Regions from separate parts of the Homo sapiens genome. Here regions 2 and 3 are each linked to region 1. Evidence: promoter capture Hi-C in human tissues and cell types (Jung and others, 2019). All regions are on one chromosome and are shown on one strand. The core of a region is centred on a gene start or on the middle of the fragment in contact, and the rest is flanking DNA. Distances in the headings are between cores, read along the strand shown.

Region 1 (2,700 bases), core at 201-2,700:
TAAATTTAAATTAGTGAAGAAATAGGCTGCTGACCAAGTAACTCCTGATAGTGTGTCGCAGCACAGCTTGGCTCAAGCCTTGCAAATGCTCGATGAGAGAGAAAGTATCGATGAGACGTGAACGAATGGCATCAGCTCGGGGAAGCTGCATCTGCCCTTCTTGTTGGTAAGCGGCCATGTCTGCTAAGAAAATGTAAGCATCAAGTGTCATTTCATTCTTGGAGCTGCACCAAGGATTACAGGTTTTCTGTCCCCTCCTCCCCACCCTCTTTGCCCTTAAGATTCCTTAATGTACCCACATCTACGAACTAGGAGCAGTTGGGCAGAACAAACATTCTACTAAGACTCAGGGTTTTTTGAAACAAAAGGGGCTAAGAGTGGTAAAGACATTGAGCAGTCGACCAAGTGGCCAGGCATCTTCACTTTGTGACGGCACTACCAATTAAAAGCTCATTAAAAAAAAAAAAAAAAAAAAAAAAAGTCCGGGCGTGGTGGCTCACGCCTGTAATTCCAGCACTTTGGAATGCCGAGGCGAGCGGATCACGAGGTCAGGAGATAGAGACCATCCTGGCTAACACGGTGAAACCCGGTCTCTACTAAAAATACAAAAAATTAGCCGGGCGTGGTGGCGGGCGCCTGTAGGCCCAGCTACTCGGGAAGCTGAGGCAGGAGAATGGCGTGAACCCGGGAGGCAGAGCTTGCAGTGAGCGGAGATCGCGCCACTGCACTCCAGCGTGGGGGACAGAGCAAGACGGCATCTCAGACAAAACAAAACAAAACAAAACAAGAAACTCAATAAAAAAGGAGCAGCCACAAGGGCAGGGGCCCGGGGCTGGACAAAGAAGAACCTGGGTCCCACCTGGGCCTGAGAGAATCGGGCAATGAGGTGGAGTTGGGGGAGGGCTTGGCCTGCCCACGCAAGAGAAACCAAGTGAAGAGAAATTGGACAAAATGCCAAAGCCTGACATTTTGAAAATGGGTCCCGTCCCAAGTGTGTCCACTCCAACACTCCTTCGGGGGCTAGCTCCTTCTCTCCTCCATTCTCGCTTCTGGGCCTCACCTCAGCCCAGGTTCTCTTCGCCCACTCAGTCCTGACTTCACGCTTCCACCTCCAGCTCAGGCGCCCCCTGAGCCCGGCTACCCCTACGCAGGACGAGCTCAGGGCCGGCTCCCAGCCTCACTGCGCCCCATTTCCCGCCCCGCCCGACCCCCAGGTTTCGGCTCACCCCGGGACCCGGCCCTAGCCCCTGCCCCCAGCCCAGGACCGGGCCCAGCCACGCTCGCCCAGACACTCGCCGCCTCGGCCCCGCCCCGCGCTCCGGCCACTCGGCGGTAACGAGTTGGTCCCGCCCGCCCGACGAAGGCGACGCGCAGCCAATCAGCGGCTGCCACACAGCGGCCCAAGCCGGGTTTGGGGGTTGGGACCTCCGGCTGCAGGTCCGCCTGGGCCAGACGCGCGAGCGCAAGCAGCGGGTTAGTGGTCGCGCGCCCGACCTCCGCAGTCCCAGCCGAGCCGCGACCCTTCCGGCCGTCCCCACCCCACCTCGCCGCCATGCGCCTCCGCCGCCTAGCGCTGTTCCCGGGTGTGGCGCTGCTTCTTGCCGCGGCCCGCCTCGCCGCTGCCTCCGACGTGCTAGAACTCACGGACGACAACTTCGAGAGTCGCATCTCCGACACGGGCTCTGCGGGCCTCATGCTCGTCGAGTTCTTCGCCCCCTGGTGAGTCCATTCTGCCGAGGCGGGGGAAGAAAGGCGGGGCTGGGCCGGGGGCGAGAGCGCGGGGAACTGTTGGGCCTACGCAGCGCCGGGGCCCTTCATTCCTGTGGGCCCCTGCTGCGGCGGGCACATTTCTCATTCCCGGGAGCTGGAGGCGCCTCGCCGAGAGCGGGGGAGTCGGTGCTGATCGGCCCAAGGAAAACCCGAAGGCTGCGCTCACGCAGGGCCTCATCCTTATCTCGGTGCTCTTGTGGCACTTCCTATTTGCAGAGGGTTTTGCCACCCCTTCCCCCAGTCCAATATGTAGCTATATCTTTTCTGCGTGAGTCAGTATTAATGCTCCTCCAGTCTACAGACTAGGCATCCCAAAGCCTTGTAGTGGAAGCGGACGTTTCACCAAATGCAGAAGTCCTGGATCCCTAGGGTATTTCCTTTCATCTTACCTCACGCCGCACAGCCATTGGTTTCTAGCCAAGGTCACTGAGTGGCTGCAGAATGGTCGTAAGTGCTTTCTTGAGGCAGGTAATTTGTCCGTCACATGGTGTACAGTTTCTCCCTTCAGCTGATCACTTACATCTCAGTACCGGCAGATACCTCTGTCCAAACGAAAGGAGTACGTGAACAAGAATAATTCCATCAGAATCTGTCCATATTGTCTGTTTTAAATAGCATTTCTTTAAAATGTCAAAAAAGACTCCAATGAGAAAATAACCAATATTGATTACATACTCCACTTTAGGGTGACTTAAGTGATCAAGGGTGTAAATTCCTTAGATAGAACTAACTCGAAATAAAAAACTGTTGGGGAGAAGGAAGAGCAAATAAGATTTCTGGCCCAGTCAACTTGAGTGTTTGTTTTTTTTTTTTATTTGTGTGTGTGTGTGTTTTTAAACCTCCAGATCATTACCAGAGTAAACAGTGATTCCTTTATCCTGGGGATAGCTCTCTATATATAATTCAATATATATAATTACAGTACTTAAT
Region 2 (2,700 bases), core at 162-2,661, 300 kb before region 1:
TCTCATTTTAACTTTCTCATTTTAACTTTTTTCCTTTGTTGATAAACCATCTACCCTCATCACCAGTAGCTGTGTATTAAACTCTAAATAGCATCCAGCTTTGGTTACCTGGCAACAGACTCAGCAACAGCAGTAGATCCATTTTTTCTTTCACCAGTTGCAGGCTCTGAATAAAAACAAAACCAAGGAGAGAAAGGAAAGAGAAACAGAATTTAGTTAGTATCACACCTAAACCTTCACTCTGCTCTACTAGTATTTGCAAAAAATAACAAAAAGAAATAAAAATAAGTAAAACTAGTAAGTATAAACATACAAACATTTCTTGTAATTTTATTTATTTATTTCTTTATTTTGAGACAGTCTCACTCTATCACCCAAGCTGGAGGGCAGTAGCGTGATCTCAGCTCACTGCAACCTCCGCCTCCTGGGTTCAAGCGATCTCCTGCCTCAACCTCCCGAGTAGCTGGGACTACAGGCATGCGCCACCACGTCCAGCTAATTTTTTGTATTTTTTAGGAAAGACAGGGTTTTGCCAAGTTTCCCAAGCTGGTCTCAAACTCCTGAAATCAAGTGATCTGCCAGATTTCTTGTTTTTTGTTTGTTTGTTTTGAGACAACAGTCTCGCTCTGTCACCCAGGCTGCAGTGCAGGCCAGATTTGTTTTAATTTTTTTTTTTTTTTTTTTTTGAGACAGAGTCTCACTCTGTCGCCCAGGCTGGAGTGCAGTGGCGCAATCTCGGCTCACTGCAAGCTCTGCCTCCCGGGTTCACGCCATTCTCCTGCCTCAGCCTCCCCAGCAGCTGAAACTACAGGTGCCCGCCACCACGCCCGGCTAATTTTTTTGTATTTTTAGTCGAGACGGGGTTTCACCGTGTTAGCCAGGATGGTCTCAATCTCCTGACCTCGTGATCCGCCCGCCTCGGTCTCCCAAAGTGCTGGGATTACAGGCAAGAGCCACTGTGCCCGGCTGGCTATTTCTTGTAATTTAATGGTACAAGTTTTTCTCACTTCCACCAATCAATTTTCTTTCAAACTTCCTATAAAAGACTAATAAGATTGGCAAGAAATACAATACAATGAGTAACTTTTTTTTTTTTTGGAGACAGAGTCTTACTCCGTTGCCCAGGCTAGAGTGCAGCGGCGTAATCTCGACTTGCTGCAACCTGTGTCTCCTGGGTTCAAGCGATTCTCATGCCTCACCCTCCTGAGTAGCTGGGATTACAGGTGTGCACCACCACACCCAGCTAATTTTTGTATTTTTAGTAGAGATGGGGTTTCACCATGTTGACCAGGCTGGTCTCAAACTTCCGACCTCAGGTGATTCACCCGCCTCAGGTTCCCAAAGTGTGCTGGGATTACACATACGAGCTACGACACCTAGCCCTTAGCAGTAATATTCTTTTTTTTTTTTTTTTTTTTTTTTTTTGGAGACAGAATCTCACTCTGTTGCTCAGGCTGGAGTGCAGTGGCATGATCTCAGCTCACTGCAACCTCCGCCTCTCGGGTTCAAGAGATTCTGCTGCCTTAGCCTCCCGAGTAGCTGGGATTACAGGTACCTGCCACCATGTCCGGCTAATTTTTATATTTTTAGTAGAGATGGGGTTTCACCATCTTGGCCAGGCTGGTCTCGAACTCCTGACCTCAGGTGATCCACCCACCTCAGCCTCCCAAAGTGCTGGGATTACAGGCATGAGCCACCACACCCGGCCAGCAGTAACATTCTTAAATGAAAATTAAACTTCTGAATCCAAATTCATCTCTGCCCATATAAGAAGTTAAAAAAGTATGTAATAATACAAAATTAAAAACCAAAAACTTTTTAAAATTTATATCATATTAAAAACAAATTAAAAATAAAAGAACTTAATAAAATAAGTAGAAAATATTTTAGGTTGATGAACTAATTTTAAATAGTTTTTAGAGCACCCACAAATAGAAGGTACCCAAGTTCTTCCCAAAGTGCTTTAGGACAGACACTTCAAAAACAAAGGGTGGCCAGGCACGGTGGCTCACTCATGTAATCCCAATACTTTGAGAGGCCAAGGCAGGAGGATCGCTTGAGCCCAGGAGTTCAACACCAGCCTGGCTAACATGGCGAAGCCCCATCTCTATAATAAATACAAAAATTAACCAGGCATGGGTGGTGGGCGTGCCTGTAGTCCCACCTACTCAGGGGGCTAAGATGGGAGGATCGCTTGAGCCTGGGAGATGGAGGCTGCAGTGAGCTGAGATCACCCCATTGCACTCCAGCCTGGGTGACAGGGAGAAGCCCTGTCTCAACAACAATAACAACAAAAAGAAACAAAAAGGACATTTTCAAGAACATGCAGCAACAGATTAAAGGTCGTACTGAAAAAAATCCCATATTCTCACAACAATGTCACTAATTTCAAGGGATTAAAATTTGTTCATTTACAATTTATACCAGCCTTAGAGAAAACAACCCTTAAATGGTTTTTAATTATTTCTAAAATATTCATGACCCAACATAATCTAAACAGTCCATCAGGGAGGCAGCTGAAATTCAGTTGGAGCCCTGGCTCTGAAATAGAAACCTGGCTCACACCCTGGCTATTGCACTTAATAGTCCAACCTAGGAGTAAACTACTTTGTCATTTTGAGTCTCAGTGTCCTCCTCTATAAGATAAAAACACAACAAACCTAAAAAGTTTGTTGTAAGGATGAAATGATGTAAGTAACA
Region 3 (2,700 bases), core at 183-2,682, 420 kb before region 1:
TGAAGCTGGAGAACCCCCAAGGCTGGACTTACTGGGGACAGTCTCCCTCCCAGAACCAGAACCCGACTCTCTGAGAGTCTTGTCATGGTGTGATAAAGGCGTCCATCCCACTGAACTCCAGTCCCACAACTGCCTATTTGGCTGCCTTTCCATTCAGAGTCACAATCTCTTGAGAGCAAGTGAAACTGGCTCACTCGGCAGTGCCGCCCCTCCTGCTCTCCAAATCCTCCTGCACTGAGAATAACGTCTGGGCTCAAGAAGACAGAGGCGTGGCCATATCTCTTCAGGTTTGGGACCTGGCCCTCGCTACTGACTACGCTGGCAGGGAATACCCCTGAAGGCGAAGCAGGATTTACGCGAGGAAATGCCTCTGAGGATGGAAACACTAGGGTGTGGGAGAGGGTGTCTCCCCTAGAAGCTGCCAGAATGAAATAATGGGCGCACTTCAGATGCCACTCCTCAAATTCGTCAAAGGGTTCAATATTTTCCACCCGCCGGCGTTCTTCTGCGGGAAGAAAGCAGTGATAGAATTCATTCATGTCCACGGCACCGCAGGCGGTCCAGCCAGCTTGAAGGAAGCGGCGCCGCTGCGCCTCCACGTCAGGAAAACGCTCCAGGCCATGCAGGGGGGAGTTTAGCTGCCGAAAATGTTGCAGCATGAACTGGCCAAAGGCGTCTTGAGGCCTCATCTGCTCATAGACCACGAAAAGGGCATTAGGAAAACGCTGGGCTGCCCAGGCGATGAGGGCCGCGGCACTCTCCGGCTCGAGGTAGGTCAGCACCGCCTCGGCCAGGAGCAGAGTGGGTGAGGCTGCGTCGAGCCCCGCGGCGCCCAGGGCCTCCTCCACTCGCTGGAGCTGCCGCAAGTCCAGACCCAGGATGCAGTAGTCTGCGCTCTCAAAGCACAGCGCGGACGCGGGCTCCCCCCTCTCGAAAGGCCCGGTTAACGCGCACAGCTCTGGCGTCTCTCCAATCCTTTCTGCTTTGCGCCGCGCCACGTCCGGAAAATCCACCTCCCAGACTGCAGCCCGGGCCAGGCGGCCCGCGGTTTTTAAGCGAAAATAGAGCGAGTCGAAGCCAGCGCCGAGAGACAAGATCTGCGCGCGAAGCGCGGCCTGGGGCGCGCCAATCTGCTCCAAAAAAGCGCGCACGCAGTGCCTCACGGCGCGTGCGCGGACGTAGTAGCCTCGGTGAATGAGCGGTGCGCGGCGCGCCGCGCCCGGAACCAGCAACGCGGCAAAGGGGTCCTGCACGTACCCGCGCGCGGCCAGGGAACGCTTGCTGAGGGCGCTGCTGTCGTTGGTGTTCTGTACCGCGCCTGCCCGACGCTCACGGCTCCGGGGGCCCATGGCCAGAAGAGACTCAGGAATGGCAGTCTGTCACGGTTGTGAGCCGCCCCTTGGTTAGCACACACCTCACGGACCTCGGTAGGGGGAAAAAAACCACCCATGCTCCTGGACTTCCCCTTCCGCCGGCACTTGTGCGTCACTTCCGGGAAGAGCGCATCTCGCCAACCAGAATTGAGGAGGGTGTAGCCAGTGCTAAGTTCGCTTGCGGCTGACCTTTCTTTGGAATGTCGTGAGTTCCATTTGTCCCAGAATACGGTCCGCTACCGCTGTGACATGAGTGTTAGGGAAGGCGGGTTGTCACGTTTCTACAAGCCTTCCAGTCAAAAGGGAAACCTTGCCTAAGTCCTTGTAGTTGAGAAATCTCTAAGAGGTGAGTCTGTGGGGACTGACGACTTGGCTTCCTTGGACCGCCAAGGAAGGGTCTGGTAGGAGCCAAGAAGGGTCGGCACCACGGACCTTCAGTAGGCAAGGATTAGTTAGCTTCCTTGGGTGCTAATAGTTGCTGATTTATTTAATGCTCTCACAGTTGCAAAAGAGAACCCCATTTAAAACTTGAAAACAAGTCACTAAGGCCAGGGTGCAAACTGAAGAAACCGACCTTTACAAATAATTTATAGACACCTAACAAGAAGACGTTTCCCCACAGATAGTAGACTGTTGATTCCCTTGTATTCCCAGCCCTATGTTAGACTGACGGTGAATAAACCACTCAGCCTCTCTTTCTCATCACACCGCCTTGGAGAATTCTGTGGATTTTAAAGTAGTGTTGAATATGTCCCCAGAAAGGGGAGTCACTGAAGAGAGGTGATTGTTCCCTGTGATATGTTCTGAGCTTTGTTTTTAAGGAGTAAATCCAGGTTAGACTTCAGAATAATCATAAAGTTTCTAAATTGGGTGTCTGGGAGTCATCCATAGGAAACCACTTCCAGAGACATTTAGGAAATTTATCATTTGTTCACTGGGATTTGGTGACTGACTGGCTGAAATAGAAAAGGAAATCAGATAACTTTATGGTTAACTACAGGTGGTACTGCATAATGGTTAAGAGTGTGAGTTTTGGAGTCCAGCAGATTTGGATACTGGAGTCAAGAAAAAGTTTCGTATTTTCCAATGTTTTCTTGTGGAACAAAATGAAATAAGAAAGAAAAGGTTTGGATCAGGATAAAGATTCGGTAATTGAAAAGTGACATTTAGATTTGGTGTTTAAAAGCTCATTAATGGCCTTAGGGAGAGCAGTTTCTGTGGAGCAATAAGGGCAGAATCCATGTTTCAGTGAATAGGAGGTGAGTTAAAGGAGGTATCCAGTCTAAATTATTATACTTTCGAGGAGCTTAACTCAGAAGGAAAAAAG

Evidence for each region. Contacts are between HindIII fragments. The study calls those that stand out against the background at their distance.
Region 2: a fragment that was not itself captured here is called in contact with the fragment with the promoter of PDIA3 in region 1 in 1 of the 25 tissues and cell types used here (hippocampus).
Region 3: the fragment with the promoter of LCMT2 here is called in contact with the fragment with the promoter of PDIA3 in region 1 in 2 of the 25 tissues and cell types used here (liver and stomach).

Annotation. Positions count from the first base shown.
Region 1 is chr15:43,744,988-43,747,687 of GRCh38, forward strand. It overlaps PDIA3 (protein disulfide isomerase family A member 3), which reads left to right and starts at 1,451. Exons shown (of 13, transcript NM_005313.5): 1 at 1,451-1,719. The coding sequence starts at 1,553. It also overlaps the pseudogene CATSPER2P1. RefSeq lists a silencer at 1,167-1,466 and enhancers at 1,967-2,016, 2,027-2,076. The HindIII fragment of the contact is 12,404 bases long and covers 1-2,700 here.
Region 2 is chr15:43,441,418-43,444,117 of GRCh38, forward strand. TP53BP1 (tumor protein p53 binding protein 1) reads right to left here. Exons shown (of 28, transcript NM_001141980.3): 15 at 109-166. Among named protein-coding and RNA genes, the nearest start is that of TP53BP1, 50 kb to the right of the region's middle. RefSeq lists an enhancer at 597-1,200. The HindIII fragment of the contact is 4,843 bases long and covers 1-2,700 here.
Region 3 is chr15:43,329,141-43,331,840 of GRCh38, forward strand. It overlaps LCMT2 (leucine carboxyl methyltransferase 2), which reads right to left and starts at 1,433. Exons shown (of 1, transcript NM_014793.5): 1 at 1-1,433. The coding sequence starts at 1,349. It overlaps MAPDA (N6-Methyl-AMP deaminase), which reads left to right and starts at 1,532. Exons shown (of 13, transcript NM_001324366.2): 1 at 1,532-1,719. RefSeq lists enhancers at 1,341-2,291, 1,524-1,573. The HindIII fragment of the contact is 18,030 bases long and covers 1-2,700 here.